Linked DNA regions of Homo sapiens: region 1 is linked to region 2. The links are contacts of gene promoters, found by promoter capture Hi-C in human tissues and cell types (Jung and others, 2019). All regions are on one chromosome and are shown on one strand. Each heading gives the region's core, a stretch centred on a gene start or on the middle of the fragment in contact. The rest is flanking DNA. Distances are from core to core; before and after follow the strand shown.

The links. The method cuts DNA at HindIII sites, captures the fragments that hold promoters and counts their contacts. A contact is called where the count stands out against the background at its distance.
Region 1: a contact is called between a fragment that was not itself captured here and the fragment with the promoter of RASA1 in region 2, in 1 of the 25 tissues and cell types used here (hippocampus).

Annotation. Positions count from the first base shown.
Region 1 is chr5:88,722,307-88,729,102 of GRCh38, forward strand. MEF2C (myocyte enhancer factor 2C) reads right to left here. Exons shown (of 11, transcript NM_002397.5): 10 at 6,187-6,322; 11 at 1-619. The coding sequence ends at 298. It overlaps MEF2C-AS2 (MEF2C antisense RNA 2), which reads left to right. Exons shown (of 4, transcript NR_146284.1): 4 at 318-525. Among named protein-coding and RNA genes, the nearest start is that of GSCAR, 29 kb to the left of the region's middle. The HindIII fragment of the contact is 4,253 bases long and covers 3,421-6,796 here.
Region 2 is chr5:87,262,907-87,269,132 of GRCh38, forward strand. RASA1 (RAS p21 protein activator 1) reads left to right here and starts at 4,977. Exons shown (of 25, transcript NM_002890.3): 1 at 4,977-6,084. The coding sequence starts at 5,546. RefSeq lists enhancers at 4,706-5,000, 5,054-5,941, 5,699-5,748 and silencers at 4,749-4,998, 5,339-5,518. The HindIII fragment of the contact is 7,176 bases long and covers 1-6,226 here.

The DNA of each region.
Region 1 (6,796 bases), core at 4,297-6,796, 1.5 Mb after region 2:
CTATTGTAACATACATTTTGCAAAGGAGCACAACAGTGAAAAGAAGTTAGCCTTAAAATCTATTTTGTACAAGTGTTCTGTTGTACAACTCAAGTGCTAAGCTTATCTCAGCATTTCTGTTTATCTTTATACTGTATCACTGAGGCAATTTAAAAGTACTTTTACAAAACAGAGTACCTGACTTTTTTTTTTTCCACACACGGCACATATAATGCATATCGACCCCCCTTCCCCATTAAGGTATAGCACACACACACACTGCAAGAAAAAAAAAAAAACTAGTAAGTAATAATCTGATCATGTTGCCCATCCTTCAGAAAGTCGCATGCGCTTGACTGAGGGACTTTCCCTTTCGTCCGGCGAAGGTCTGGTGAGTCCAATGGGGGAGTGGAATTCGTTCCGGTGATCCTCTCGGTCGCTCCCGTCGTACGAACTGCTACAGCTGCTCAAGCTGTCAACAGGAGATCTCCCCGCCTCGTGGCGCGTGTGTTGTGGGTATCTCGAAGGGGTGGTGGTACGGTCTCTAGGAGGAGAAACAGGTTCTGACTTGATGTTGAGGCTTTGAGTAGAAGGCAGGGAGAGATTTGAACTCTGAGATAAATGAGTGCTAGTGCAAGCTCTGTAGGAGGAAAGGAAACCCAGTTACAGATGAAGGAGGCCTGGAGGCCCCAGGAACTCACAATTAAATCAAACATCAGCTTAAAGACTCGCATAGACACCAGAGCATGCCCAGAGTGAAGAAAACGTGCTTGGAAGCACATAAGGGCATCGCCTTCTCAGGGCGATTTAGGATGCCTTTGTTGATTTGCCCGGTAGTAATTACAGCATTTAACTGGTCCAGGCCTCATGAATTATATCTCTAGTCTCCGAGAGGCTCCCTAAACATATAGGTTACCATTTCAGAAAGGTTTAAGACACAATGGAAAAAGCATTTTCTGTGTTCATGGACTCTATCCCTAGACTAGTTCTAAAAATTAAATTTCTAAGCATTTAGATACAGTGTTTAGCTCTGGAATTAGACTTCCTTGATTTACTAATGCTTGTGTTTGAATATTATTTTTAAAAGCTTATTATCAATATAAATATTTGCCTCCAATTAATAAGCACATACAGATGGAATCACATAGTCTTCAGAGAAAGTGAAGGGAGTTAAATTTTAAATGACTAGAACTCAAATGCTGCACAATAACTGTATCTGGTAAAAAGCTTTGGAGGTGGAAAAAATGGAAAGGGGGAGGGAAATTGAAAATTATCTGCAGAAAGTTTAAACGTTGGTTTTCAAACACTTAAGACTTTCTACTCCATTAAAACTGATAATTTGACTTTCTTCATCCTTTTGCAGTTACATGAGATGAAAATACTTTGTGTTCCACAATGACCTCAATTTTATTAATGTTAGTCACTCCCTGATGCGTGCGGTTCTTAGGCTACCACTCCTCTTATTTATCATTGGCATTAGTTGATGAATCTGGTGTTGCCTAAGGAAAGCTTGTTGCCAAGAAGGATGTAGTGTGATTTTACTGTGTTTATAATCCTTAATCCTCATATATTCCCAGAGAGAATAATTTTTCCTTTTTCCAAAATCTGGGAAAATTTAGAAACTTGGAATTCTAGAGGAAAAAAGTATTAAGCCCTTAAGTGTAGATTAGCAATCACAATGACTTTGATCAGGATAAACCATAGTGGCATTGCTCGCATCAATTTTAAGATGCTTTTACTCTTCTTACACTAATTACACTGACTTCCAGAGCTAGAGTCAGGATTACTTGACTATATTGTCAAAAGAGCATGGTACTCTCTTTTACTGAGGAAGAATCCAAGTGAAGAATTATCCATACAGACACACCCATTTTAAACAAAGGAAAGCAAGCCTACTTACTAATGTATGTAATTATGCTGCTTTCCAGTGGAGAGAATTAGTTGGCACTAACAATGTCATTATGACCACTGAGAGAAAAAGTATATATTTCAGAAAAAAAGTGAAGTAACTTGGGGCTGGCTTTTTGGGAGATGCAATACAAACTCAAGATGTATAGTGATATAAAATTAGTCAGAAACGAGTTTATCTTTGAGTGATGTTTTGTACAAAAGCACCACCTACTGGCAAAGAATTACTTTCCTTCTCCTATTAATAAATAGATGAGCTAATGTAGAGAATAATATAAAGGAGAATTATTTGTTTCCTTAATAAGCGTCTCTTTCTCTAGCTTTTATGATCTTATATAATCAAAGCAGTGTTAGCATTTATATCAAGAAACTACACTGACTGTATATAATTTTCAAACACCTGTTTATATTTGGAGCTATTTATTTGTAGCTTATTAATTTATAGTCTATCAGTTTACTAATTTTCCAAAAGTTTTAATTAAATAAGCCTTGTTAAAATGGGGAGAGGGAACACCTGTATTTCAAAAGGATTCATAATGGTAGACTATTTTATCTTGGTTCAAAGTTACTTAGTGATTCATTCTGATGTTTGAGGAAATCGTCTTTTGATTTCTGGAATAAAGAATTTTCCTGGCTCTAAGAAAGACCATTTCACTAAAATTTAATTAAATGCTTCTGCTATGAATCACACAACTATTTAATAATGAATATGAATTAGGAGTCTGAAAATAAAAAGTGATATGTCAATAAATACTTTTGCTTGCTCTTTGACATACAGATTATGTCTTCACAGGGAGGGTGACATAGAAAATTAGAAGAAAAAATTGGTGAGTTGGACAGTCTAAGCAGTTAATCTAGACAAGGTAAGGGAAAAATAATATAACCAAAATTCTGTTTCTTTAATACAGTTTTTGGAAGCTGCATTATTCACCTCTTTGCATCATCTTCCTATGTTAACTGGCCTGTATAGGTTTAGCTGTGTATCTTCCCCATGAAAGATGTAACAATTATTGGTTATCCCTTCCTACAAACAGACTAGCTTAAATTTATCTTTTGGTGGAATTTCATTTGACACTGAAAACATACATGAAGCATTTTGAGTAGTTCTGGGGACTAAATCCACAGTAGTAAAATGCAAGTGATATCTTAGATTCAGCTTCATTATACTGTGACATAGGATATAAAATAGAATGGCTAGTCTCTGTTAACAAAGAAGTATTTTCTTGAAAAGAAAAAAGTAGCATTAAAATAACTTAACTGCATATATGCTAGGTTCAGATATAAGCATGTTGGTCTACTTGAGAACAAAATATAGACACGAATAATTATAGACCCTGATAATTGTGAAATACTGCATATGTGTGGGTGGGTGATAAAGAGGTGGGTGGGGAGATAGAAGCCAGATATGCAAGTTACCCATATCAAGTCCTCTATGCAAATTTTCATCTATTACAGATGCTTTTGAATTGGGAAAACTCCTACCCTTTCCCATAATTGTTCAGAAATCAAACATGACTGGATAGTTTTATTCAAAATTTTTACTGCCTCCGCCTGGAAATTAGACTATCAAACTATATTTAACCTAACCTTTTATAAGTCATCTCTACTCAGAGTTATCTCTCTCAGTATGTACTGAACACCCACATCAACAAAGTTGACGTATGGAAATGCTTCCAGAAAACAGGCTGCCCTTTTTATAGGTGGTGGTTTAGAAAAACACTAAAACTTAGTGTTACACTAAATCAAATATTAGTATTCAAAGGACTTTCATTAACTCTTGATGGCAAGTTCCTCTGTCAGCCATCTCTCTCCCTATAGCAAATAAATTTGTGTTGCTTACTTAGCTTGGTTAGATAAAATCAGATACTAGGTTTTAAAAGTATAGCTTTGAAGACTTAAAGCTCCAAAGGACAAAATGAACTTTTTTTCCATGGACAAAATATGAAGAACTCTGTTTATGGTTTTGCAATTTTGAGAAAGAATTGTGGTAACCATCTTGGGCTGCTGGGAATATCTACTTTGGTGGAGCTGAAATATATTCCACTCTGCTATGAACATTGTCTCTAGCCAAAAGAATGTGAGCCCGCAACACAAATCTCTGCGACAACTTTGGCCTGGAAAATGTATCAATTCTTTTTAAATTGATTTACACTGTAAAGAATTAAGGATGCTCATGTGAATTACTTTACATAAGTATTGCAGCTTGGGATTTTTTAAAAAAACAGTTTAACATTTAATCGTGTGAATATGAGGTAGTCCATGTGAAGGAACCTCCTTTCAAAAAGCTACTCTGTGTGTGATTGTGAGAGGGAGAAAAGAGTGTGTGTGAAGCAGAGAGAGAGAAGGGCCAACAGTGGAAGGACTGGAAGGGTCATTCCATTGATTTGAGGGGTAAGGGAAGTGATTAAGTGCAATTAAAACTCACAGAGAAAACTAAGAGTCAAATTAAGCACAACGAAATTAAGTGTTGAAAGGAACCGGGAGCTGAACAAAATGCTTAACCTTTGGCTGTTGTAATTCAGTTCCTTTCTGTCTAAGGCTGTCCCTCCTTTCTCATTTTCTGAAACCTCTATTAGAGGCAGCAGAGAATTAGATTCTTCCTTGTAATAGAAAAGAGTTTTAAAATTGTAGTACAGCTAAAATATGTAAATAAATATGTGTTTATATGTAAAAATATAAATTATCAGGTACTATTGAAAACAAAAAAAAGCCACATTCAGAGAAAATAATATGGCTTTTGACATTGATAACTTTTAGGGAAATCTAGCCCTATAATGGATGAATTTTGTGAAAAAAATGGGAAATAAGCAGTTATGTTTATTTTTGACAAGAATCATGTTCAGTGGATTCCCTGCTAAGCCATAGCAGTTGATACTTTGTACAAAATATGTATACATGTACATATTTTTTAGTTGCCTGGATGGAATTATGTGCTTGGTGATAATTACCTGAAGAAGTTCCCACAGTTAATGTCTACTTGAATAGTTAACATTCCAGAGAAAATTTAAGTGTCCTAAAAAGATAAAACTCTGCGCTGATCAATATGTAATGTATCTTCAAAGTTAACTATCTTTCAAGAAAGCTGACCAACAGTATCACGTGAATTTATCTTACTATTTAAATGAAAGGTTAGATTTTCAATGACAGTGATTAGCGGGTAGGATGAACATAAGCAAACAGTGTACGGGTGAATATTTCATAATCAGATCACTAATATATGCTAAATCACTATCATGTGAAAGCTAGTGGGTGGGGGGAGAGAGGGCACCAGCAAACATAAGAGACACAAAGTTGTGGTATAAATCAGTGACTTTTATACTAATCAGTGTTTTATTCTCACTGTCTCCTTAGACATATGGATATATAACTAGTTAACTAATACAGCTAAGTGATTAACGATAACAAATGGCTAAGCAGAAAAGTAAAAGTGGGCTAGGCAGACAGAATATTTTTAAAATATAAAAGCTTGTTATCTTTAAATATTTTATATCCTCCTGGTATTTTCTTTTGAAGATTAATTGCAATTTTGGACTTATTAAATTTACAGTCAGGCTTTCAGTTAACGTTTTAAGCTTTTTTAAAAAAATGATTTGTTTTATATGAAATAGTGTGAATTGTGAATTCAGAGCTTTTTAAAGGTTTGAACGTTTCCATAGATAAATGACAAGAGTCATTTCTATGATAAAGACATATCTGAAAACTACCACAAGGGGGCAGAAAGATACATCCTCTGACTACATAAAACAAAAATTATTTTTATATCCAAATTTAGGTAATTAGTATTATATGTACTAGTTAGTATTATATACATATATTTCTTAAAATATCTATAAGTATACAACTATACTATGAGTACATTATAAATACATGAAGCCTGTGTATCAATTGACTAGTTGTTCCTATGTGTATTAGGTTAACATTAGCATAAACCATATGGTTTATGTGAAAAAAGAAAAATTCTCAAATATCTAAGCTTATACTATAAATGCCTTCTTATGTCCCAAATGAACTGTGTGAAAACTAAATAAAAATTATATCACTGATAGAAGTGGAAACAAATGTAGCCTAAAACAATAAGGAAAGAATTTACCTCATTATTACAGAGCTCGCTGTCCTCTTAAAAAACAGGTATATAAGATTTAAGCTACTTGAAAAGTATTGATCTGAAAATTACACTTGGATTTCAATAAAGTAGAGTTTTATACCCGTTAATGGGATATTGAAGCACATATTTAGAGACTGTCATTTGTTTTTCAAAATACATTCTAAAATTATATTATAAAAAATAATATTGCTTACCCCAACTGACTGAGGGCAGATGGTGGCATGTTATGTAGGTGTTGCTGTTGCCAGCCAGTTACTGAACCAAGGTGAAGAGCGCTGGCGGTGTTAAACCCAGACAGAGATGACAGGTCTGCACTACTCAGAGAGTACTCTAGATTAAAGAATAAAACAACAAGGGAAAATATTAAATTTAGAAATTATCAAATGGTAAATAGAATAAACATTTTCAATTTCCAAAATATTCTATTAGGATTATCGTTATTATAGATATTTTTAATTTTGAGGGGAGGGGAGATAAAGCATCAGCGATAATTCTAATTTAAAAGGAATATACTATAAACCAAAAATAAGTATTCCACGAATGCTCTGAAGTAGCATAGTCCGCAATTCTAGTTTATTAGAACTACAATCTAGTATAAAGGTATGTACATATTTGATGATGTAGAAATGTTAAACAATCCTGAGAAAGTGAGCTTTTTATTACATCAAAGAAACAGCTCAATTTTCTTGAAAGTGTGTTTCTATTTTGAACTCAGGTTGCATAAATAAAACTTTCAGTCAGTTAAGAAAGAAAAATGTGGATATTCACTTTGTCTTAGTGAAGAATGGGTAATGCTGCAGTGCT
Region 2 (6,226 bases), core at 3,727-6,226:
TATTTCTCATAGAGACAGGGTCTCACTATGTTGCCCATGCTGGTCTGGAACTCCAGGGCTCAAGTGATCCTCCTGCCTTGGCCTCCCAAAGTACTGGGATTATAGTCTTGAGCCACCATGCCTGGCCTTCAATGCCAATTTTTAATGCATCCATGGAAAAAGATAAAATAAGAACATAATATATGATGAATATTTCATGAAGCTAAATTTATGTAATTCTAAGGACTTTTCCTTTTTTTTCTAAAATTATTTCCATCCTTTCTCTTTCCTCCTTCCCTCTTTCTCCCTGCTTTGAAATGTCCTTTCCTTTTATGAAATAAAGCAGCAGGAAATGGCAGTTTTGTTGTAATAACAAAATACTTCTCTCTTCACAACATTGGCAAACTCATAATTGGCAATTCTGTAGTCTCTCAATTTTTGTGGAAACTTTAGTAGTCTATGAAACCCAGAAGTCTGAACATCACTGATACATACCATTATATTTACATGTCATATTTCATTGCTTTTTAAAAACTATTCGATAAACAGTGAATAGGAAGTTGAAAAATAAGAGTTCTAGTAAGATAACAAGTGAAGTTGAAAAGTCTTCAAAAGAGCACGCGGATTGAGAAATAATTATAGTTAGAAATAGAAAGCTGTTTTTAGTTGAGTAAAGTTACACTACTTACAGTGCATTTGCAGTAGTTAAAGCTCTCACCTTATTTATGATAATTATCTGACTCAAGGCTCCACTTAGCCCTTTCATTGTATAGTTACTTTAAAGAGCGGTGTGTATTGCCATACTAACTGAATTTGCAAGTGAAAGCATTCCTGGAAGACTCTCAGGTAGACCAAAGAATGTAACTTGAATTAGAGACTGCAGGATTCTTGAGGTGAAAAGACCAAAGCTTAGTTGGATTTCATGACTGTGCTTCAGGTGCTATTTAAATTGTTGCTGGCATATTCAAAAAATATTATCTGTGAAAAATGGGAGTGTAATAATGAGGGAAATATGGCAAAGTCCTACCCACCCGACTCTCCCACATTCTTTGCCTTGAAACCATTCCGTTCCCTTTTCTCCTTTACTTCTACCATGAGGTACTATCATATATAGGAGCCAGGCAAAGAAAGGAAAATACATAAATGTGCCTGGTCAGAGTAAAATAATAGGTAAAGAAAAAGAGACTAGAAATCATGAAGGAGGAAAGGTTCTGACAAAAAATAATGAAGTATCTGCAATATAAAGACAAAATAGGAATAAAGTAAAAAAAAAAAATATATTTTTCTATTATTTTATATTTTAAGAGATATTTAGATCTAACTGTTCTAATCTTCTTTACTCATATATTGGTTTGAATGTTTTGAGAGAGCTCTGGATAATTTACCTTGTAATTTATTTTACAGCCTCAGAGATCATCACACAGTTCTTCAATTTCTCTATGGTATTTATAATTTTCATAAATCTTAGTTATTATACCACATATTGTAATCTCTGCAGAGTTATTTGCCTTTTCATCAAAGTATTTCCTTTAACCTGTATCTCCTCGATGTTATTTTCTCATAAGATCTTTGTAATAAAAAAATTTGTGCTCTGGAGGGTTTTAAGATAAAGTCAATAAATGCAGTGGGGACATTAGGGTTAGAAGTAAAGGCTTTCTTTCAAAATTATTGGGTCAATGAAACCTTTTGATACTATTTAGGTAAATTTGGAAGGCTATTTGTGTAACTCAATATGTACTAGGGCATGGAACACAATTTGGCATTCTTCAAACACAGCAGTAAGCTCTTTATTACTTCTTGGTTAGTCCTCCCATCAGAAACTATTCTTACCTATGCTCTAAGGTCCTCTAAAATTACAGTTATGTTACTGAGTTAGAATTACCTTTCCACATACTCAAGATATCAAAACTATAAAATATTTTGGAACGTAGTACATTCATATTTCTTTTTCTTTTTTTTTTTTTTGAGACAGAGTCTTGCTCTGTCACCCAGGCTGGAGTGTTAGCCAGGATTGTCTCGATCTCCTGACCTTGTGATCTGCCCGCCTCGGCCTTCCAAAGTGCTAGGATTACAGGCGTGAGCCACCGCACCCGGCCACATTCATATTTCAGTTGCCAATGAAACCAGAATGAGCCAACTTCATTTCTTAAATTTTCAGTTTCTTTTCATACACAAGTTTTTGTCCAGCACTTTTTATTATTTAGTCTTCATTAAATACTATGTTTCAAGATCCAGAGTAACTTTTCTAAAATCACAGATATAATAGCTTATTTTACTAAAGGTAAAATATATTTTGAATTTTCTTTCTTTTGTGTACTATTCTGTTTTTCAATACCTCCCTGTTTAATATCTGTGAATTTAATTAAGATAGTTTACTTCCCTTTGTTAACTGGGCAGAAAGTTAAGGTGGGTAGAAAAGAAAGGCAATGGACAAAAATTAAGTAGAAACATTAAATCCTTTTGGAAAAAATGAAAATAAAGATAGACAACGTATTTGAGATTCAGAAAGTACACAAGCAATAGTAAAGATTAGAGCCTAGATCTATCCAATAATAGGAATATATTAAATATCTGAAAATACCTCATAAAAATATGTGGCAATTTCTTTGGAGGAAAAGAACAGGGCTAACTCTAAGGCTAAACAAAAACTAGGTAAGATATTGGTATAAGGCTGATTTACAAATAGACATAGTAGTTATTTCCTACTGGTTAAGAAATTGATTTCCAAAGATGGGAGCTGATCAAATTTGGTATTTGTTAAAAGGATGAAGATCTGTTCAAAGTAGCATACTGAGGTTGCCTAGGACTGGGCTAGGCAGTAGAATAGACCACAGGTTGTATTTGCAGTACAGTTTTGTAGGTACATACACCTAAAAGTCTAGAAAACATTTAATTGAGCATTTGATAGGTGTTAGACTGCATTAAATATTGACCTTTACAAGTGCTAAAGAATTGTCAAAAAGGAGGAGGTAATTCTGCAGTAAGAGTAGTGAGCCTCACCTGGACTCCCAGGCAACATACAGAGGGTGTGTGAACATTTAGAAATCAGTGATAACCAAGAGCCGGTGATAACCTGCCAGTTCAATGTCCTGCATTCAAGGGCTGACAGTGGTGACTGGGACAGGAATGTTGGAGGATTGGGATGCTAACACACTGGAGGTTTTCAAGCACAGGCTATATTAAGATTTGTTGGGATTGTTGCACTTGGTGTTCACACAGCAGACAGTAAGTAGAGTAGGTATTTTGATAGTCTTGTCTAACTGAGGGTCTAAGTTTAAAAGAAAACTGTTCTCAGGGAGGCCACCATAAGTAGTACTTCATTATTAAGTATTATGGAACTACTTCATTCTCATTTCTAGAACAGCACAGAGCTTGGCAACTCAAAACCCGCCTATTTTACCTACCCACCTAATGAATGACATTTATTATTTCTTTCAGAACCGTTTTTAGGTATTGCATACCTCCTTCTTGATTAGTATACTATACATTAATATAGTGGTTCTCAAACTTAAGTGTGCAAACAATCACTTGGAGGGTTTGTTAAAATGGATCGCTGCATATTTTCTGATTCAGAAGGTCTGAGGTGGCATTTCTGAATTCCTAGGATGTTGCGGCCTGAATTCACTTTGAGAACTCTAGCTCCTGTGACTGGTCCATCTTCCTTCTCCCAGGTAGCACACTGCTAAGAGATATGCGTAATGGAGGCCCCAGGACTACTCCTAATCAAGTTGGATTGTTGTCATTGACTAGGTAAATAGGCCTGTGCAAACTTACAAAGGCAATGCATTGCCTGTATCTTGTCACGTCTTTTAGTGGTCTTTTCTCTTTTTCCTGGGTTTCTATCACAGCCACTTGCCATCCTGAGTGTTAGTTTGATCATCCTTAGCACAGAAAATATTGATCTCAAAGATCAATATCCAATGGTATTTAATGTGGGATCACTCCTGGGAGAATTTAACAATATTGTTAATTTCAAACCATGGGAAGCTCCCTCTACATGAATGCATAGTTTGTATACATTTTAGTGTAAAAGACAAAATAACACCCTTCTCCTTAATTGTATTAAAAATGAGTTTTCAGTTTATTGCTACTTTTGAAACGATATATAATTATAACTAGCATTCTGGGACATTCTTGACATTTGACTTGTTGAAGGTGCTTGCATTGTGGATCACGTCCTGCAGTCTTTTGCACACAAACCAGGACAAAAGTGCATTGATTAGTGTTTTCTGTGGCACCTCCTCCTCTTCATCAGTATCCAACAGACTTATAATGGCATAGGTAAGTATATGAGACAGTTGATAAAGAAAAACGTATGCAAATACTGGTAGAAATCTTACTTCATAACCACTATTTCTACTCAAATTCTTCACCCTTCTCATATGGTGCCCTTTATTTCGTTTTGGAGTTTCAGAATCTATTTTAACTGTGTGTGTGTGAGATAGTCATAGTGATTTATAGCATGCAACGAAAAAGAAAACATTAATAGTACTGCCCCGATCTTCAAAGCTACCTGACCCCTGCCCGGTTTCTGCGCTGCTGGTTAAGGCTGTTTTTTCCACTGGTCAGGAAGTACGGAACTAGTTTCTGGGCATTTTCCTTTCCCTTTCCCCCTCCTTCCTCTCCACCGCCTCCTGGTCCCCCTCTGGTCTCTCCGGCTTTAACAGCGCCAAGCACCCGCGTGCTCAGGTACCCTTCCCTCTTCTCCCGCCCATCAAACAAAGCCCCGGGAGACAGGCGCGCGCCGCCGGCCACGCCAACAGGAGATGCGGCCGCGCCGCCACACGCTTGGAACCGGAGGAGGACAGCAAGCGCGACCACGCACCGCGCGTCCCCGCCGCTTCCTTCCCTCTGGACTCTTCCTTTTCCTCCCGGCCCGGCCCCCCGCCCCCGCTCCGGGAACGCGCCTGCGCACAAGCTGCCCTCTCCCTTCTCCGCCCTTCCTTCCCTCCGTCCCTCCTCCCCTGCCCCGCCTTCCTTTCTCTCTCTCCCGTTTCACTCACTGAGAGCTCCAGGTAGTGAGCAGTTCAGTCGATTTCCTCGTTACCCCGCCCCCCTTTCTCTTGCCCCCCCACCCCTCTCATCTGCCTGGTGGAGGATGAAGCGGCTGCAGTGGCCCCAGCCTCAGCAGCGGCACCGGCGGTGGCTGCGGTGTGGGTGGCCGGAACTGGGGTGGTGAAGAAGCGGTGGTGGCGGCTGAAGGAGCGGTAGCAGCCTCAGCCTCTTTCCCTGTGCTTCCTTTCCTCTTTAGTGCAGCGAGGAAGTTTTCGCTTCTGTACATGTGTTTGTGTGCGTGAGTGTGGGTGTGTGCGGTGAGGTTTGGGTGGCGTTTGTGCAGGCGTTGGGTTTTTTGCCCACTTGGCTTCCCGTAACCCAGGCAGCTGGGGAGCCTGGGCTGTGGCCCTAGGAGGGGGCGCGGCGGCGGGCTCTCTCCTTTTGTTGTTGTTTCCTCAGCCTGGGGAGCTGAAGGGGAGACGCGTCTGGGTGGGGCTGCTCGGAGCCCGGGCCTGGTGGCCCCTGGGGCTCCCGGGCGGGCAGGGTAGGGCAGAGTAGAGCGGGCTTCAACATGATGGCGGCCGAGGCCGGCAGTGAGGAGGGCGGCCCGGTAACAGCCGGAGCTGGAGGAGGCGGCGCGGCAGCGGGCTCCAGTGCCTATCCCGCAGTGTGTCGGGTGAAGATACCCGCGGCCCTGCCTGTGGCAGCCGCCCCCTATCCTGGGCTGGTGGAGACCGGAGTGGCTGGAACTCTGGGTGGCGGAGCCGCTTTGGGGTCAGAGTTCCTAGGAGCCGGGTCTGTGGCAGGGGCACTGGGGGGAGCTGGACTGACAGGGGGAGGTACTGCTGCTGGCGTAGCTGGTGCTGCTGCTGGCGTGGCCGGTGCTGCTGTTGCTGGACCTAGTGGAGACATGGCTCTCACCAAACTGCCCACTTCGTTGCTTGCTGAGACTCTCGGGCCAGGCGGCGGTTTTCCCCCTCTGCCCCCTCCCCCTTACCTGCCCCCTTTGGGGGCGGGCCTCGGGACAGTGGACGAAGGTGACTCTCTGGATGGACCAGAATACGAGGAGGAAGAGGTGGCCATACCGTTGACCGCTCCTCCAACTAACCAGTAAGTTAAGACTGCTGTTCAGGAATTTGGGAAGCTGGCTCCAGAAAAGAAGTGGAAATGAAGGGGTAAATCATACTTTGTCCTTTTCATCTGTGGTTTGTTAGGAAAAGTTTTTGAAGTTTCAGGTTTCTTGGGTAGGAAT